Linked DNA regions of Homo sapiens: regions 1, 2, 3, 4 and 6 are each linked to region 5. The links are contacts of gene promoters, found by promoter capture Hi-C in blood cells and fetal thymus (Javierre and others, 2016). All regions are on one chromosome and are shown on one strand. The core of a region is centred on a gene start or on the middle of the fragment in contact, and the rest is flanking DNA. Distances in the headings are between cores, read along the strand shown.

Region 1 (3,098 bases), core at 137-2,636, 150 kb before region 5:
TGTATTGTTTTTATTGGTACATTGTTATTTTTATAGTTTTTTCTGAATATTTTCAATCCATTGTTGGTTTAATATGGAGGTGTGGTACCTGTGGATACAGAAAGCCAACCACAGGAAACTTTCAGAAGCAGTTCAGATCACTAATGTTCCCTCATTATCCAGAGACACAATCACAAATCCTTCATTTTTGTTCTCTAAGCAGGAGTCTTCGAATAGATTACTAAATTGGGATCAGACTACTTTAACTGTAGGGCAAGTGAGGGCCTTTAGGTCAATTCCACAAAGAACATCAGGTAACATCATGCTGTGGCATAAAACTGGGATGCATTCCATCTCAACCCATGGAGAACGGTGGAACTCAGGCAGAAATATGTATGCAGGTAATTGTAATAAAAAAAGGATAGGCCGGGCACAGTGGCTCACGCCTGTAATCCCAGCACTTTGGGAGGCCAAGGCAGGTGGGTCACCTGATGTCAGGAGTTCAAGACCAGCCTGGCCAACATGATGAAATCCCACCTCTACTAAAATTACAAAAATCAGCCAGGTGTGGTGACGGGCGCCTGAACCCCAGCTACTTGGGAGGCTGAGACAGGAAAATTTCTTGAACCTGGGAGGCAAAGGCTGCAGTGAGCTGAGATCATGTCACTGCACTCCAGCCTGGGCGACAGAGCGAGACTCCATCTCGGGGGAAAAAAATGATAAACAGTGAAACCAGTTCAACCTCTGAGGCGAGATGGACCTGGGAACCTAACCACAAGCTCATGTTCCTCATCTGTAGGTAGACAGATGATGGCTGCCTGGCTGGCTGGAGAGAAAGAGATAGATAGATAATCAACCTCCACCTAAGAAAGATAAGGGTTAAGTTAGATCACGGCTTCTCAACATTGGCATTTGGGGGTGGATAATTCTTTGTTGTAAGGGCCTATACTGTTCATCATAGAATGGCTGATGGCATCCATGGCCTCTACCCACTAGGTACTAGCAGTGCGTACCCAGTCAGGACAATCAAATATGTCTCGGACATTGCCAAATGCCCCCTGGAGAACAAAATAGCCACTAGCTGAGAACCACTGATTTGGATCACATAGGAGAAAGAATGCGATGTATGGTCATTGCTCATAAAACATTAGTACCCTTGCCTTTTCCCTTTACCTACAGTGTCATATACATACTGTCATATACTTGCAAGTTTTACATACAATGAAACTTCTTTGTTTTGCCAATTGGAAAAAAACCTTCCCTAGCTTCCCACCACCACCCAGGACAGTGCCTGAAGAAAAGCTACAAACACAAAGTAATGGATTTTATTAGTATTATTTTGTGTACTTCTTTGCATACACAAAATTGTAGAACAGGCCCTCAAAGTGCCCTAAAAAGTGACGTATTAACTTAGTACCAGTAACAGGCCAAGTGTGGTGGCTCACACCTGTAATCCTAGCACTTTGGGAGGCCAAGGCGGGCACATTGCTTGAACCCAGGAGTTCAAGACCAACCTGGGCAACATAGTGAGACTCAGTCTCTACAAAAAAATACAAAAATTAGCTAAGTGTGGTGGCGTGCACCTGCAGTCCCAGCTACTCGGGATGCTGAGGTGGATCACCTGAGCCCAGGAAATCGAGGCTGCAGTAAGTCGTGATCGCACTATTGCACTCCAGCCTCAGCAACAGAGTGAGACCCCATCTCAAAAACAAAAAACAAAAGACTTAGTACCAGTAACAAAAACGACAAATAAGCCAAGAAGAAATCCTGAGTAATCATTTTGTTCACTGACTGGGAGCTGTCTAAAAGGCAATTAGCTGGTCTGAGAGAGATGAAAAATGGCAATTTCAGGAAAGAAATAAGAAAAGACTTATGCGTGCATTAGCCAAAGGAAATGAACTTCAAGTGACAAAAGTTCTTACTTGACATTTTCATTTAGCTGTAAACAATTATATAATGTTTACCCTGGCAGGCTGGAACTAAGTAGTAATGAGGTTTTGATATATCATATCCAATAACAGACCACTACAACAATGAGGTTTGATTTGTCTTTCTTCTCTTTACACTAATAATTTCTAAGGATAGCTTGCCTTTAGTAGTTGCTATTAGCACTACAAAAAAAAAATAGTTGTTAGTCATCCAATCCAATGAAAATAGTTAGGAAGCCTCAATTCTAAAGACTGCAGAAAATTGTTTGCCTTTAAAATTTAATTAGACCACAACTCTACAGAGCACTTCTACTTGCATGTGAGGACTAGCATGAGATACCAGCAGATAGGCTTCTAGCCCGTGGACAAGGACTGTCCGAAGCATAAGCTACCCAGGAAGGGACTCACGTCAGCGCTGGGCCAGAGCTCCTTAATTACACTCTCGATCCTGTTCACCACCTCCATCCGCATCTTCTCCTCCTCAGGTCTTGGAGACATGTATTCATAAAAATCACTGATTTCTTCATGCAGACTGAAGAAAAAAACAGAAAAGTTAATATGAACAGGGCCAATCTAATGAGAAATCACTATCTTAAATAATCTTATCTAATTAAGTCTTATAATTCAGCTGATGACTACCTTAATTTTAATGTTATAACTCAAGATAAGCTAAAATGGGAATGTACAGAATTTAATCAAAAAACCCAAAATAATTAAATAATGAGAAATTTCCTGTGCAAAACACTTGCTGGGGTGCTGGTGATTTAAATAAAATAAAACAAGCATACGGGCTGGCCTCTGCCTTTCCACTTCTGATCTAATAGACACAAGATACTGAACCCAGGTGACACAGGCAAGTTTCCTGGCAGTAGGGACTGACCCTCTTATCTCTTGGGGATCCATTCCTCACAGTAGCAAACAGTACATCTTTCATAATGTTTGCTCAGTGAATTAAGTGTCAAATGAACAAATCAGGCAGTGAACAACAGCAAAGTCTTGAAAAGAATGGCTGGCAAAGGCTCCATGAAGGAGCTGAAGACTTCCAGAGCCTGCGAGGTACAGGGCAATCAGCCAGCTACAAGGGCTGTGGCAGGCAGAGTGGGAGAAGCATCTGTAGAGGAAAGCAGGCCCCAGCAGAGGGCAGGCTCTGAATGACTGGCTAAGAGGTTCAAGCTTTCCCCCTGTGGCAAC
Region 2 (2,975 bases), core at 314-2,813, 230 kb before region 5:
TCAGCAAGGGTGGCCACATGCACCGAGGCCTCATGGGTGGGGCTTTAGGGGAGCTGAAGAAGGAGCGCCATCTGCCTCTGCTCTCCCCTCCCCACCCTCTACCCCACTCAGCTGACCCTCGGACTGGACGCCCCAGCAGGTGGCCCTGTGCTCTGGCTTCTGGCCAGGAGGGAGCTAAGAGGGCTCTGTCCTGCAGGCTCACGAGGGCTAGGCCTGCTCCTGGAACACCATCTGTCTCCAGGACTCGAGCCTATCCTGTCCTCGTCCCTACTCTGTGCCCATCAGCCATCACAGACCCAGGCCCCAGACACAGCACCAGCCCTGCCTCCAGGTCCCCTGCACCTGCCCAGCCTGGGAACCATCCCTGGCCTGTGCCCTCCGCCAATTACTCAGTTTCAGCGTGTGCCAGATGTTTCCTGCTGGGCCCCATCTGGCACATGCTGAGTGAGTTCTGAGTGACTGCAAGGACAAGAGGACAGTGGCTTTCCTAGAAAGCAGGCAATCTTGGCAGACCTGGATACTAGGCTCCAGCTACCCTGATCTCCTCTCGGACCAGGCACAGGACTGCCCATGGACCCAGCCCAGCTCTCGGGGATGTAGGAGAGGCCACATTCCCCCGGCTGCTCCACCGGCTGACAGTCCCCTGTGTCTCTGACACTTGGAGTTGGGGAGCTGGGTCTTGTGCGGAGGTGTGACTTGTATGCCTCTGAGAGAGGAGGCCCTGGCTCTTGGAAAGAGCTTACACTTCTGGAATCTGATTGTTGATAGGAGAAAAGGCTGGGACCAGCCCTGCCCAACTCTGCCCAGAGATTAGATGCTCTGACTGGGAAGCTGGCACCTGCCATGGCCTCCCTTTCCCCATCTGTGCAATAGGGCCACGCCTCCTGGGCCTGCTGGAGAGGGAAGACTGTGTCCAAGGGCAAGGGACCCTCTGTGTGGGCTTTATGGTAAGGAAAGGGCCAGCTGTGGCCCGAGCCCAGGGCCCCTGCCTCACATGAGGCCCAACCTCTGGGGCTCCCAGCTGCTGGTTCAGAAGCCATGCAGATCCTGAAGGAAGGTTCCAGGCTAGACAGGCCCTCTGAGTCACTCAGTCCACAATCCCCAGGATGGGACAGTTTTCCAGAGCATCCCTGACCAGTGCAATCCTGTAGAAGCTTGGTTACCCCCTGCAACAGGGAGCCCACTTCCAGTCCCTCCTGGGATTGAGTAGCTCTGATCATGAAAAATTCTTCCCAGTGTGAAGTCATAACTTGCCTCCCATCAAGTTCTAGACCATTGATTCTCTGCCCACAGAGACACCTGCGGGGCTCTTACAAATTCTGGCCAGGCGCAGTGGCTCACACCTGTAATCCCAGCACTTTGAGAGGTCGAGGCAGGCGGATCACAAGGTCAGGAAATCAAGACCATCCTGGCTAACATGGTGAAACCCCGTCTCTACTAAAAATACAAAAAATTAGCCAGGCGTGGTGGCAGGCGCCTGTAGTCCCAGCTACTCAGGAGGGTGAGGCAGAATGGTGTGAACCCGGGAGGCGGAGCTTGCAGTGAGCAGAGATCACACCACTGCACTCCAGCCTGGGCAACAGAGCAAGACTCCGTCTCAAAAAAAAAAAAAAAATTCTGATGGGGCAGGGCATGATGGTGCATGCCTGTAATCCTAGCACTTTGGGAGGCTGAGGTGGGTGGATCACTTGAGCGTAGGAATTCAAGACCAGCCTAGACAATGTAGCAAAACCCCATCTCCACAAAATACAAAAAAATTAGCCTGGGGTTGTGGTGCACACCTGTAGTCACAGCTGCTCGGGAGGCTGAAGTGGGAGGACGCCTGAGCCCAGGCAGGTTGAGGCTGCTGTGAGCCATGATTATGCCATTGCACTTCACGCTAGGTGACAGAGCAAGACTCTGTCTCAAAAACAAAACAAAACAGAACTCTGATGGGTGTGGACATGGGCACTGGTGTTTTATTTAAGCTTTCCATGTGATTTGCATGTACAGCCAGGATAGGGAGCCACCACCTTAAATCTTACACTTCAGTCTCTATTTAATGGCCACCACTTCCAGGAAGCCTGCCCTGATCACCTGAGGCTGGGCTAGGTGCTCCCCAGGCTTCCTGGCCCCCACACTTCTCTTCTTCAAAGCACATACCATGTAGGCCCAAGGCCCCACCCAGACTCAGGGCCTGGCACTTACCCTCTCTCAGGACCATTTGGTCCATTAATGGAAATGTTGCTTGCCTTACCCCCTCCCTGCCTGGCACGTGTCGAGCTCCTCAGCATCCTGGTCCTCGCCTCAGCCCTCATGTCCTTGCATGTCAGACCTTGTGCCCTTGTCCCCCTCACACCTCACACGCACACTGAGCACGTTCACCCCATGGACACACGGGGCTTTCTTTCTACTCCAGGCTTTGTCTATGCTGTTCCCCCTGCTAAGAACACTGTTCCCTTTCCTCCTCAGATATTTTTTCAAGTATCTCAGACTTTAAGGTGGGCCAGGAGTGGTGGCCCACGGCTGTAATCCCAGCACTTGGGAGGCCAAGAGGGGATGATCACTTGAGGTCAGGAGTTCGAGACCAGCCTGGCCTACATGGCGAAACCCCATTGCTACAAAAAAAAAAAAAAAAAAAAAAAAAAAAAATTAGCCAGGCGTGGTGGTGCATGCCTGTAGTCCCAGCTACTCAGGAGGCTGAGGCATGAGAATCACTTGAGCCTGGCAGGTCGAGGCTGCAGTGAGCAGTGATGGCACCACTGCACTCCAGCCTTCATGACAGAATGAGACTCCATCTCACAAAAACAAACAAACAAAACGTAAAAGTTTAATGTGCACATGATTCACCTCAGATCCTGTGAAAAGCAGCTTCTGGGTGAGGCTGGGCATTCCACAGTCCTCCTGAGCTACCAGGTGAGTGGAGGCTGCTAGCCTTGCCAGTGAGGATGGAGCCATCTCCTCCTCCTGAGCCCCCATCTGAGCTCCAGAGCCCC
Region 3 (3,215 bases), core at 582-3,081, 200 kb before region 5:
TATAATCCCAGCACTTTGGGAGGTCGAGGTGGATGGATCATTTGAGGTCAGGAGTTTGAGACCAGCCTGGCCACCATGGTGAAACCCCGTCTTTACTTTACTAAAAATACAAAAATTAGCCAGGTGTAGTGGTGTGGTAACTGTAGTCCCAGCTACTCAGGAGGCTGAGGGAGGAGGACGGCTTAAGCCCAGGAGGCAAAGGTTACAGTGACCCAAGAGGGTCACTACTGCACTCCAGCCTGGGCAACAGACAGAGACTCCATCTCAAAAAATAATAATAAATAAAAATAAGAAAGAAAGAAAATACCACCGGAGACGCTACCTCCACAAAGCTCACACCTGCCCTTCTGAGGGCCACAGAATCTGGAACAATCTGAGAGCCTCCCCTCCCCCACACTCTGCACCAGGAGCTGCAGGTAAACCTTGGGAACCCAGGGCCTCTGGAGGTGGGAAGACAGACAACTGGGTGGGAAGCGAAGGCTGTGCAGCAAACGCCTTCCTGAGCTGCAGCCCCCTCAGCCTCCTGCACTTCCTGCAGGGCTGGCACTTGGCACTTCCTCTCAAATTGGCTGGCTTGTCACTTTTATGTCTCCTTTGGCCTCGTCTAAGACAATAATACAGTCATGATGTCACAATGGCAATGTCCTATTTACAGATTTTTTTTTCCCCAAGACAAATACTTAGATTTTAAACATGTCCTTCCACACACAGGCTAGAACCCCCTGTGATTCCCTGGGCAGCCCGGTCCTCACTCCGAGAAACACTGGTGTTGAGTCCACCCCTCACAGCCTCCATCTGCAAGATGGTGATGCTAGTGAAGGCCCACGGTCACATAGCCCTTCCAGACACATCCAGCCCACACTGGCTGCCCGTCCAGGCCTTGGACCCAGGGCCCCTGTCGTAGGTGGCTCGGCCTGGCCCCTACCTCCAGGCCCTTGGCTTCCCCCTCCCGGCCCTCCCTTCTCCTCTCCAGCAATGGCTGTCCAGGGAGGAAGCCCCCAGCCACAGATGTCCCTGCCCTTGACCCTGATGTGATGACACAGAGAAGAGGCAACTGCCTCACCCTCTGTACATACATGTTTAGATGAATGCATAGAAAGCTCCAGAAAGACCCGCTCCAGAAAGACCCACTCCAGATGGCCCATGCGGTCCCTGGGGGATAGAGGAGAGGCATTGCAGGGAAAGGGAAACCAGTCTGCTTTTTGGAGGCATCTTGGTTTCCTGACCCTCAGGCATGCACTCCTTTCAGAGGTTTTGTTTGTTTTTTGTTTTATAATTTCATAAAATTAGTTGAATTGGCCTTCCCTTGCCAATGTTTCCTTTCATTGAGAAAAGTCATGTGTGCTTGTAAATGTAAAATTACACCCTCGAGAAGGAGTGTGGACATTTGAGAGTCTGTGGTTCCTAGAATTCCAGATGGAACGGGCCACATGTACAACATTGTGGTCACAACCGCACTTTCTTGTCAGGCTGGGAAAAGCCAGTGACAAGTCGCCTCTGGTCCCCTGTTGAAGGGCCGCCTCTCCCAGCCATCTGCCCAGTAGGCTCACGGAGCCTCCTACTCCCCCAGCCCAGACCCTGCCCAGTGCACTCCCAGGCCAGGCTGCCGGGTGAGCTGCTTCCCACCCACTGTCCAGCCCCGTCCCCTGGGGCTCAAGCCACTAGGACTGGTGACACTCCATCCCCACACCCCACTTTTACCTGGCTCTCCTCCCCGGCCCCAGCAGCCGGCCAGGGTCTGCAGGGAGGTGGCCCGGCCCCCGCCTGCCCTTCCTCAGACGCGCCCAGGCTCACCCATCCGAAGGCTCCTTCCACGCTACCTAATGAGAGTGAGTCACATCTGGGACCCACCACTTCCTGCTCCGGCAGCGGCAGCAGCGGCGGCGGCGGCAGCAAGGCTAAGGCACAGCCCACAGCCCAGCCTCTCGGGGTGTGCAGGGCCCCCTCCCCCAGCCACAGTGCTGCTCTCCGCAGCCTGGGAGCTGCCAGGCCTGGGAGCTGTCGGGCTCCAATGACTTCATGGAAATTTGAAGCTTGAAGCTGGAACAATTTTGAAAAAATAATAATAAAACAAGCACCAAAAACCTCCATTAGAAGCCCCAAGACAACTGTTCAAAGTGGGGAGCAAATGCATCCTTAGTGAGCAATTAGCAATTAGCGGCCTGGCCTGAGCCTCCTGTGGGCTCTGACGCTCACAGACAGGCCCCCCGCGCCTTCCTGGGACTCAATTTCCCTATCTATGTAGTAAGGTGGCCCCGTCCACCTCTGAGAGGGGCCCAGGAGAGGTCAAAGATCTTCCAGCCCAGCCCACTGCCTCTCCATCTCACCTACGCTCCCATGCTGGGAGCAGGGCAGGGGCAGGCCCATCCTTGGGGCTCCTATTCCAAAATCAGAGTCCCTGGAGAGCCCCCAACATCCCTGGGCACCATGAGGCTGGGAATCAAACCCCAGCACCCCTTCTGCTATGCCAGGCCTCAGTTTCCCCACTGGGATCATGGGGCGCTCAGTGGCGAGGGAGCAGATCAGGAGAGGCTAAGAGGAGAGAGTGGAGACTCCCAAAACAGAGGGGGAGGCCTCCAGCCCGCTGGCCACAGCAGCACCTGGTCCTCAGGGAGCCCTTCTGAGCATGTGACTGGCATCCTGGGATTACGAGCTCCTCAAAGCAATGGTGTACCTCCTCCACCTCCCACATCCAGGGTCAGACACCCCTCTTCTGGTCTTCTAACCCCTGCACCTTCCTCCATCACAGCACCTCTGTGCTGTGACCACTGGTTGCTGGTCTGTCTTTCCTAGGTTATATCCTTGAGGAGGGCAGAGATGGGAGGGCAGCTGTAATATCAACAGCTGTGTCCCCAGCGTCCAGCCCCAGCTGGTCACAGAGTAGACATCCCACACATACTGATCAGGAGGAACTGAACATGTTAGGTGCTGTCTCTGTGCCAGGCCCCATGCAGGGAACTAGCAGGTGATCTAAGGTCTGCCATCTGGTGGAGACAGGCATAGGACTCACACAGGGTTCCAGGCTGCTCCAGAGGCCACAGGAGGGAGTGGGAGACCTCAGGGGATCCTCCCCATCAGGGTCGCCCTCCTATCAGCAAATGTCTCCCTAGCAAATGTCCCAGAGCAGAGAAGGAACAGACATCATCATCATCAAAAGAGGGGAAAGACAAGCCACTGACTAGGAGAAAGTCACATCCTATATGACTGACAAAAGA
Region 4 (3,290 bases), core at 470-2,969, 160 kb before region 5:
TGGTCTTACTTTAGCATTATTTTCTTTATAAAAAGTTACACTAAGTGTCCATTAATGGTCTGATTGGTCTTCAGTATTTCATAAATGTATATAAAAGAAACTCCTAAAAGCCAATAGTACTTTATATGTATATATATATAAAAGAATCTCGTCTCAGAAATGGCTGCATTTAACAGAGCCATACACATTGATGCTAAACATAAGAGCTTTCACCCTGAAAGAAAGCATTTTCAGAAATGTCACTTACATTCTATTATATTAAATATTCCCAACTGAGTTTCAAACTCAACAGGTAATGATAACAGAATTATACATCTCATTGCACTCAAAGCTGACTACAACCAAAATTTACAGTATGATTGAAACAAGCCAATGTTTAAAAAAGTTTTAATTAACGATAACAATTCCATGAAAGAAGAGGATAAAGAATGGGATGACAAGAAGTATTTGGTCTTAATAAGGCAATACAAAATAGATCCATTATCAAAGACCATTTAATTTGTAAAGATCAACAATACCAAAAGCATAGAGTGGAATATAAGAAAATAGTTTTTTATAAGTATGATTTAATTAAAGCTGTTTACAGTTATTCTCCCACAGTAGTTAAGCATGAATTTTAAAAAGAATAAGAGATGAGAAACAGGCACACGCAGCACACAGGGTTAGAGAAGCCAGCATGCAAAGTCTGTGGAACTCGAAGTTTCACTGCAACAGGAATGAGACCAGACATGGGTGACCTTTTTTTTTTTTTTTTTCCTATTAGGAAGAAATGGGGGGAAAAAAAAAAGACTGCAAAGGAAGCAAACACAAAGTCATGTAATTGCCCATTGCCCAAGACGACAGCACTATAGAAAACAGTTGCAAGTTAATTCTCGGAGATGACCAGAGATTTTTCAGTGTTTACACAAAAGTACATAGTACATTTTTTTTTTTTTACAAAATAAAATAAACATCATTTGCCACCATAAACCTTTTCTTTAGAGAGGAAAAATTTTTGCAGCAGGACACAAGGGTTCTATTAAGTCATTTCAATGCTGAGAAAAACAAATTGAGTAATAGAACTAATCACTTCCCTATATATGGATGTTAAGATGACAATTTAGATTATTTTTCAAACTAATCCTGAGAAAAAATCTGTTTACAATTTAAACAGTAATGTTATGTAAAAAGTATTATTAACAAATCCACTATTACAAATATCAATCTCCTATATGGTCTTCTATATATACACACAATAAAATGGTAAATATATGCAAAAATATTTAAAAAAAAAACATGCACAGATCACTTTCCCCTTTGGAATCTGGACTTCCTATCAGATACCTTTGTTTTCCTTCCCCACCTCATCCTCTGATACTGTTTTTTGTTTCTATCACCCTACCAACACTGAATACTATTCCCTATAACTCTGCATAAAGCCAATGAGAAATATATTTATTTTACATTCAAGCTTTAAATCTTAAAATGACCCTGTTGTAGCATATGACTTATCAAATAAGCAGCCTTTTTTTTCCCTCTTTTTTGCTTGCTTTTTTTTTTGTTTTGTTTTGTTTTTTTTGCAGTTGTCAGTCTTCATGATCCATTCTGTGGCGAGCTGGGAAAAAACGCAGTTGCTAAGTCAACGTCTGAACAGTGTGAGGCTCCTGAATATCTCCCAGGAGTCCCTGCGCAACTGTCCTGAGCATGAGATCATTGCACAGAGAAGACAGTCCACCGCGCAGCGCTGACTATCTACAGAGGTCTGAGAGGGGCGCGTCCCTCTTGTGTTTCCTCTTTTTGCCATGGTAATACTGATTATTGGATTTGCCTTGATGTTGTTTGTTTGTCATCAAGGAACCATGGCTTGTTTGAGTTGTACCTTGGAAGCCTTTGCTGGAAGAACGAAAGAGCCTTGCTGATCCATGCTGCAGAAACAGAAAACGACCACAAAGACATCAGTATTGCAGAAAAGCAGAGTGTTCTCAAACACCTGGATTTGGGGAAGCTTTCAAAACTAGGAATATGCTGGCTAGATTGTTACCTTACTGATCACTGACTTATCTAGTGGGCAGAAAAAGCTGTTACAGGGGTTCTTTTTAGCTCTAAAACCCTTACTTTATTTTAATGGAAATAATGAAAAGCATAGACCACTCGCCCGCCTTCTTAACAGTGTGTGGGATGCAAAGGTTTTCTTAAGAAACTTACCAACCCAAACACCACATCATAAGTGACAGAGCGGGAAGAGGCTCTTGGGCATGACAGGCACACTGGTAGGTTTGGGTCAGCACAGGTGGCTACTCCCTTCCTGCTACTCATGGCCTGTGGCTTTCTCGTGACCTCAGTCCCTTCTGTCAACCCTGTCACTTGAACTGGTATTTTGTGATAAGTCTGTGTCTGGCATACATGGCTAAGGCCGCGTAGGTAAAGTGAACTCAGTGAGTCAAATCAGACACAAGGTTACAGCCAAGAGGCCTATTCCCAGGTTCCCAGCTATAGTGAGGAGTGACCCAGCCTTAGGCCAGAGCCCCATATCAATGGCTTCCTCCCCTCACTCTGAGTCATTACTCAGTTAATGACAATTCTAGGCAACAAAAAAACTTAAACTAGAGTATCTCTGTGGCCTTTTAAGTCCAAGCTAATGTTAATCAACTGACCACGCCTGACAGCCAGCTGATCATTTCAACACCAGCAACAAGGTATTGAACATTAAAATATTAGAAAAGGATACATTATTCCCAGATATGCACACTGCCATGAGGCCTCACAAAACCTTCATGCCAGCTTATTTCATGTACAACTGAGACACTTTTTATATGGTAGTTTGGCTGGAACATCTTATAAGGACCAGTCAATAGATTCCTGAAGAGATTTATGTTACAATGGTGTCTCACAAGGATCCTTAGGACATCCTGTTCCTAGAAGCACTGTCATGTGTTGGAACCTCTTAGAATAAAATAAGTTTGTTCTTCAATCTAGCGTTTTCTTCAAACCCATGCTGCATATTATTTACATGTGGGAAATTCTAAATATTTTGTATCAAATACTAACAATTAAAAACCCACGTTCCACACACCTGAGATTTGTTGGTGCTGTTGGATGTGTTAGTGGTTTGGGTGCTTTGCATTTTCCCAACTGCCTGAGAGGACTCCAAGGATACATCTTGCGACCCTACTCGGTTCCCAGTGGACGGACGGCAAAGCAGCTGTTTCGGGGTTTTGCATGGTGTTGCATCGGAATCCTAACACAAGTCACGTGAGTTATAATGTGACATATTAGTAATTTAGATACTCAATATTCAGAAAGAAAAACAA
Region 5 (3,043 bases), core at 453-2,952:
CAGCAGAGTGGTCTTCACAAAATGTGTTGCAGCATGTCACTTCCCTGCTTAGAGTTAAGTCCTCAGCCCTACACCATCGTACAGCTCATCCCTCTCTCCAGCCTCACTTCCTGTAATTACCCACCCCTGCTCTTCTCAGCCACCTACCTACCCTCTCTGCTGTTTAACCACGTCAAGCTGCCTGCTGCTTCGCTTCTTTGCTGTTGCTGCTCCCTTTGTGGGGAATATTCTTCCCCCTATTTTCCCATGCCTCCTGGCTCTCTCACCCTGCACATCTCCTTTCACAAGTCATCTAAAGAGCACCTTTTTTTTTTTTTGAGACAGGGTCTTGTTCTATCACCCAGGCTGGAGTGCAGTGGTGTGATCATAGCTCACTGCAGCCTCGAACTCCTGGGCTCAAGCGATTCTCCTACCTCAGCCTCCTGAGTAGCTGGGATTACAGGCACCCACCACCATGCCCGACTAATTGTTTATAATTTTTCTACAGACGGGGTCTTGCTATGTTGCCCAGGTTGGCCTTGGACTCCTGGCCTCCAGTGATCCTCCTTCCTTGGCCTCCCAAAGCAATGGGATTACAGGTGTGTGCCACCGCGCCCGGCCCAAGAGCACCCAATTCAAACTTCCCACCCCCAACTCATCATCATCTCGTTTTCCCACAGCAATTCTCACTATTTAATATTATGTTTTACCTTTTTACTAGCTTCCTGTCTGTCTCCCCATCAACATGACTTGTGCCAAGACAGGGATCTTGGCTGTCAACAGATCTCGCTCAAAAGTCTTGGCTGCTCAAAGTCCCCTGCATCTAGAACGATTCCTGACACATGAACTGAAGAGTTCATCCAAGCAAGGGACCCTAAGGAGGGCTTTTGGAGAGTGTAAAACGTGCGCAAGGCGTGAGGGCAGGACGCCTGAGCAGGTGGACGCTGCAGGTGAAGCAGCCAGGTGGACAGATGAGATGCGGGGATACTGGGCTTCTCCGGAGCCTGGAGACTGGCTTCAAATCTCTGCAAACGGGAGACCGGGCCAGTGCCTGATGGCACACAGAAGGCGCTGGGTGACCGCTGCGACCGCCCGCAGCCCAGACGCGGGGGAGGCCAGCGGTGGGCACCGCCCCGCACCCTTCCTGGCTCACCTCAGCGCGCCGGCTGCAGTCTCCCTGACGGCCAGGCTGGGGTCTAGCAGCAGCGGCCCGAGGCGGCGCACGGCGTCTCGTCGCGCCAGGCCCGGGAGTGCCGGCCGCTGCTGCACCAGCCGGGCCAGCCCTGCGCAGGCGCACTCGCGGACCTCGGCGCTCGGGTGCTGGAGCTGCGGATGAGAGCGAAAAGGGTCAGAAGGCGCGCAATGCGCACGCGCGCGGGGCAACCTCGTCTCGCCTCCCGGCCCGACGGAGCCCTCGCCTCACCTTTTCCAGCAGCTCCGCCGCCGGCCCGTCGTCCTCCTCGCCTCCGGTCCCATTCGCCGCCGCAGCCGCCTCGGCCTGACAGTCGCCCGTAGGGGAGAACTGAGGTCGCTTGAAGCGCTTCGTCCGGCTCTTGCCCATGGTGACGTGCGCTGGGCGGACAGACCACCGAGAGAGGAGGGCAACAGCAGGCGGTGGAGGCTGCCGCGCCGTTAACAAGGTCCGTTGCTGCTGCTCAGCTGGGCCGGCTGACGGCTGCAGCACACATGGGCAAGCCGTGCGCAGGCGCACGGCGCGTCGTCTGCCGGGTCGGGGTTGGGGCGGGGCGGGGTGGGGGGAACTGGCGCACGGAGCGCGCAGGCGTGGAAGAGGGCATAGGCGGGGCCAGCTTCGGCAAAGGGGCGGAGCCTTGTGGGTTTACCGGGTAAGTAGGAGGTTGGACTAGAATAGTAACGCCGACCCGGGCGAGAGGATCACTTGAGGCCAGAAGTTCGAGACCATCTTGGGCAACATAGGAAAACACTCCACTCCCTGTCCTCCCCACCAAAAAAATTAAAAATTATCTGGGCATAGTGGCGTGTGTGTGTAGTCCCAGCTACTTGGGACGTTGAAGCCGGAGGATCACTTGACCCCAGGAGTTTGAGGCTGAGGTGAGCCGTGATCCTGCTACTGCACTCCATCCTGGGCGACAGAGCGAGACCCTGTCTCAATCAATCAATCAAGCAACCAATAAGTTAGTAACACCGGCTACAAATAATCAAATGTGATTAAGAATACCTAACTTGCAAGGTTATTGTAAGTTCTGTAAAGTTCATAAAGTTCTGTAAAGTGCCTAACACCAAGCCTGATATATAGCAGGTACTCAAAAAGCATTAACCACGATTTTATTTTGTGTCCCCAGCACCTCCCATAGCTCCTGTCGTAGACAGAGACTAGTTAATGTTTTGGAACGAATGTGTGTCTATATTTGATAAAACAGAATCGCTTAAGAACCTAATCTCCCTGCCTTAGTTTCCTCATCAGTGAAGTGGGGACATCGATAGTATATACCTCATGGAGTTGTTACGAAGACTAAATGTGTTCATATGTTTAAGGTGCTAAGAACAGAGACTGGCAGATACTAAGCACTATGTAAATGTTTGGAAACGTATTTAACAAAGAGATTCTTTTGCAGATATTTGTTGAGTACTAGGTACAGTGCTGGGCATTGGAATAAAGCAGTAATCAAGACAGTTTGGTTCCTGTCCTCTCTCCCTGTCCTTATGGAATTTACAGTCCAGGGAGAGATCTGTTGAATATATAATTATATGAATAACTTTGGTTATAATTGTGGTAAATACTAAGCAGAGGGAAAAGTACAGGAGAATCTTAGGTGGTCTTTATAATTAGACATGTAACGAGTGAGTACTCAATATATGCATAGCTTTGGGTCAATTTTCTTTTTTTCTTTTTGTTTTTGAAACAGAGTCTCACTCTGCTGTCCAGGCTGGAGTGCAATGGTGCGATCTCGGCTTATTGTAACCTCTGCCTTGGAGTTCAAGCAGTCCTCCTGCCTTAGCCTCCTAAGTAGCTGAGATTACAGGTATGTGCCACCATGCCCAGCTATTTTTTTTTTATTATTATTTTTAGGAGAGACGGGGTTTT
Region 6 (2,941 bases), core at 411-2,910, 250 kb before region 5:
AAACTTGATGAGACCACCAGATTGCTCAGGGAACTCCAGGAAGCCCAGAATGAACGTTTGAGCACCAGACCCCCTCCGAACATGATCTGTCTCTTGGGTCCCTCATACAGAGAAATGCATCTTGGTATGTTTTGCCTCCCATAAGAGGAGAGTCACGGGATGCTTCAAAGAAAAAACTTCTTGAGTACAGTGGTGATGCCACTATAGAGTAATGCTGATGTGAATCCCAGGGACAGTTTTTTTGTTTTGTTTTCTTTGCATGTGTACATTTACTGTTCTTTGGGATGCCTCTATCTAAAGGAACCATGCTTTAGTATCTGGAACTTTGTTTTTCTTTTTAGCTGAACAAGTGACCAATAATCTTAAAGAACTTGCACAGCAAGTAACTCCAGGTGATATCGTAAGCACGTATGGAGTTCGAAAAGCAATGGGGATTTCCATTCCTTCCCCCGTCATGGAAAACAACTTTGTGGATTTGACAGAAGGTACGTGCCCTGTTTTCTCTGGGAAAGCAGAAAGCTATGGTGACTATAGTCATCCCTCAGTGTCTGCCCGAGATTGGTATCAGGACCTCGGATTTGGTATTTACCCCACAAAGATAGCAAAATCTGTAGATGCTCAAGTCCCTAACATAAAAGGTATTTGCCTATACCCTACACACAACCTCCAGTATACTTCAAATCATCTCTACTTATATACTTCATAGAATGTAGTTAATAGACTGTATTTTTTATATTTTTTTCATTGTTTGTTGTATTTTTTTAATTGGGTTTTTTCCCCAAATATTTTTAATTGGCAGTTGGTTGAATCTGCAGATGTGGAACCCATGGATAAGAAGGGTCAACTGTAAAAGGAACATTTATCTGTTTTTAATGTATAAACTACTCTTAGTTTTCTTTTTATCTTGTCTAAAGAATTAATAAAGATTTCCTGTGTGCAGAAGAGCCACAATGATCACCTGATAATGCGCGTAGTCTTCAGCCTTGGATGTGGTGAAGAAGGGCTCTCAGCAGTTATGCTTCTGGATGGCAGCTTGACTTTCATGTCCCCTTTTTAATTAAAAGGTAAAAACAATGTTGAATTAAGTGATGTCTTTTTCTTTCAGACACTGAAGAACCTAAAAAGACGGATGTTGCTGAGTGTGGACCTGGTGGAAGTTGAGGCTGCCTGGTATTTGATTATATATTATGTACATACTTTTTCATTCTTAACTTAGAAATGCTTTTCAGAAGATATTAAATATTTGTAAATTGTGTTTTTAATTAAACTTTGGAACAGCGAATTTGGATGTTCCAGAGGTTGGACTTGTATTAGGTAATAAAGCTGGACCTGGGACTCGTGAGGAAGGAATGTGCTTGGGGCTGTTGCCATACCTGTGCAGCATTCTTTCAAAATAGTGCCTTCCAATGCTTCTTCCTTATGTCCCACAGACAGGATCATCACTAAGAAGCGTTCTTAAAACGGCCCCATCCAGTGAGATTTTCCGTTATACGAACATACTTGAAATAATTTTAGAATTTACTACTGTGGTTCTGCCCCTGCATACCCAGTGGGAATGATGCCCTTGTATGGGTAATTAGGCACCTCCCACCCACCCCTGACAAAAGCACACTGGGAGTTTTATAGCACTGTCACATGGCTAGTGTTCTTTTTTGGTTTTTTCCGTTTTTTAAAGAAAGAGGAGTTACTTAGTACTATAGCAAAGTAATAAGCCAAATAAGATAAACTAAGTCATCCTTGAATAGATCAGGGAATTACCAGATTACCAAAAGGTGACATTTCTACTTTACTTACTGTTTATCTGAAATACAAAGGTCAAGTACCCAAGGAGTTGAACTCTAAGTAGGAGACCACAAGATTCATGGCCCCCTTTTATCAGCAAGCTGAGATAAATGGTGATTTTGCTGAATCGGTATAGAACCTGTTATACACAAGGGAAAAAAATCAGGATGGAGATAGATAGATAGATAGCCTTGTTCAGTGAACAAATTAAGTTTGAAGGCCCTTATACAATCCTTCTATAAATCACCCAGGCAGGAAGCCATTTGATTTCTATTATTTTCCTGACTTTGAAAATTAATTAGTATTTAGGAAGAACAAATAGGGTAAAGGAAAATTAATTCCCTCAAAAGACTTAAAATCTTATGCTAAAAGAGTCAAATTTTCAAGTTGTTTGAGTCTACTTTTAATCTCTAGTGAGTTCATGAGGACCACGAAAATAAAATACCTTCAGATATTTGAGTTTTTCAAATTGCTAATTTAATGTATAAAAAGCAGCTAAACACTGGTACTTTATAAAAATGAAACAGCATTTTGAAACAAATGTTACAGATCTATAAATATTCATTATATAGAATAAACCCTAGTTACTTGCATGCACCACCTCAAATCATATTTCTTTACACTGACCTATTATATACACAAAGTATACAGTGGTTAATGATCTTCTCTTCTGTTTGTTTGTTTGTTTGTTTGTTAGGAAATTTCCTCAATAAGCCAGAAAACCTTAGGTATTATTTTCACAAAAGTTAACTCAGGAGAAATTGTAAGGAAGTCCTTGACCCATGGAGAAGGTCACTGTTTGTTTGTTTGTTAGATACGTGTGTCTGTCATAAAACAAAATGACACCAGTAATTACTTGGTAATTTAAAAACAAGTTCATAAAAAGAAAATACCTGCAGGTAATTTTTATGGTCAGTTATATTCTATAACCTGAACACTGAAAACTAAAAACTTTTACTTACAAACTATTATTATCTGAGCACAGCACAGTGCTTTGCTTTAATTGGAAATAAAAATGCATGAGTGAGTGGTAGTCAGTTATTTGTTAAACTCCCAACTGGGGTTTCTGTTGTTACTGAAGAAAAAAACAAATATTCCAAGAGTACAAATATGCTGACCTCAGAGAGGCCCAGTGCACTAATGTGTTTCTATGTTATAT

Evidence for each region. Contacts are between HindIII fragments. The CHiCAGO score rates a contact against its expected background, and 5 or more counts as called.
Region 1: a contact is called between a fragment that was not itself captured here and the fragment with the promoter of HEATR3 in region 5, in 14 of 17 cell types (M2 macrophages, M0 macrophages, megakaryocytes and 11 more). The highest score is 19.1, in M2 macrophages.
Region 2: a fragment that was not itself captured here is called in contact with the fragment with the promoter of HEATR3 in region 5 in 1 of 17 cell types (neutrophils); the score reaches 6.6 in neutrophils.
Region 3: a contact is called between the fragment with the promoter of ADCY7 here and the fragment with the promoter of HEATR3 in region 5, in 8 of 17 cell types (neutrophils, monocytes, M0 macrophages and 5 more). The highest score is 10.1, in neutrophils.
Region 4: a contact is called between a fragment that was not itself captured here and the fragment with the promoter of HEATR3 in region 5, in 2 of 17 cell types (M2 macrophages and M0 macrophages). The highest score is 6.4, in M2 macrophages.
Region 6: a contact is called between a fragment that was not itself captured here and the fragment with the promoter of HEATR3 in region 5, in 1 of 17 cell types (neutrophils). The highest score is 8.4, in neutrophils.

What each region holds. Positions count from the first base shown.
Region 1 is chr16:50,210,664-50,213,761 of GRCh38, reverse strand. TENT4B (terminal nucleotidyltransferase 4B) reads right to left here. Exons shown (of 12, transcript NM_001365324.3): 2 at 2,316-2,439. Among named protein-coding and RNA genes, the nearest start is that of ADCY7, 54 kb to the left of the region's middle. RefSeq lists a silencer at 2,890-3,098. The HindIII fragment of the contact is 3,393 bases long and covers 1-3,082 here.
Region 2 is chr16:50,295,002-50,297,976 of GRCh38, reverse strand. All of the region lies in intron 7 of ADCY7 (adenylate cyclase 7), which reads right to left. Among named protein-coding and RNA genes, the nearest start is that of MIR6771, 3.9 kb to the right of the region's middle. The HindIII fragment of the contact is 813 bases long and covers 1,157-1,969 here.
Region 3 is chr16:50,265,167-50,268,381 of GRCh38, reverse strand. ADCY7 (adenylate cyclase 7) reads right to left here and starts at 1,831. Exons shown (of 26, transcript NM_001114.5): 1 at 1,702-1,831. RefSeq lists enhancers at 2,059-2,148, 2,094-2,687. The HindIII fragment of the contact is 14,845 bases long and covers 1-2,035 here.
Region 4 is chr16:50,227,766-50,231,055 of GRCh38, reverse strand. TENT4B (terminal nucleotidyltransferase 4B) reads right to left here. Exons shown (of 12, transcript NM_001365324.3): 11 at 3,053-3,217; 12 at 1-1,904. The coding sequence ends at 1,728. Among named protein-coding and RNA genes, the nearest start is that of ADCY7, 37 kb to the left of the region's middle. The HindIII fragment of the contact is 534 bases long and covers 1,453-1,986 here.
Region 5 is chr16:50,064,629-50,067,671 of GRCh38, reverse strand. HEATR3 (HEAT repeat containing 3) reads right to left here and starts at 1,702. Exons shown (of 15, transcript NM_182922.4): 1 at 1,403-1,702; 2 at 1,133-1,305. The coding sequence starts at 1,540. HEATR3-AS1 (HEATR3 antisense RNA 1) reads left to right here and starts at 1,348. Exons shown (of 3, transcript NR_186390.1): 1 at 1,348-1,619; 2 at 2,865-2,981. RefSeq lists silencers at 980-1,239, 1,320-1,369, 1,700-1,749 and an enhancer at 1,600-1,894. The HindIII fragment of the contact is 22,013 bases long and covers 1-3,043 here.
Region 6 is chr16:50,317,431-50,320,371 of GRCh38, reverse strand. It overlaps ADCY7 (adenylate cyclase 7), which reads right to left. Exons shown (of 26, transcript NM_001114.5): 26 at 2,237-2,941. BRD7 (bromodomain containing 7) reads left to right here. Exons shown (of 17, transcript NM_013263.5): 15 at 1-124; 16 at 342-485; 17 at 1,106-2,941. The coding sequence ends at 1,161. Among named protein-coding and RNA genes, the nearest start is that of MIR6771, 26 kb to the right of the region's middle. RefSeq lists an enhancer at 79-1,278. The HindIII fragment of the contact is 7,497 bases long and covers 1-2,941 here.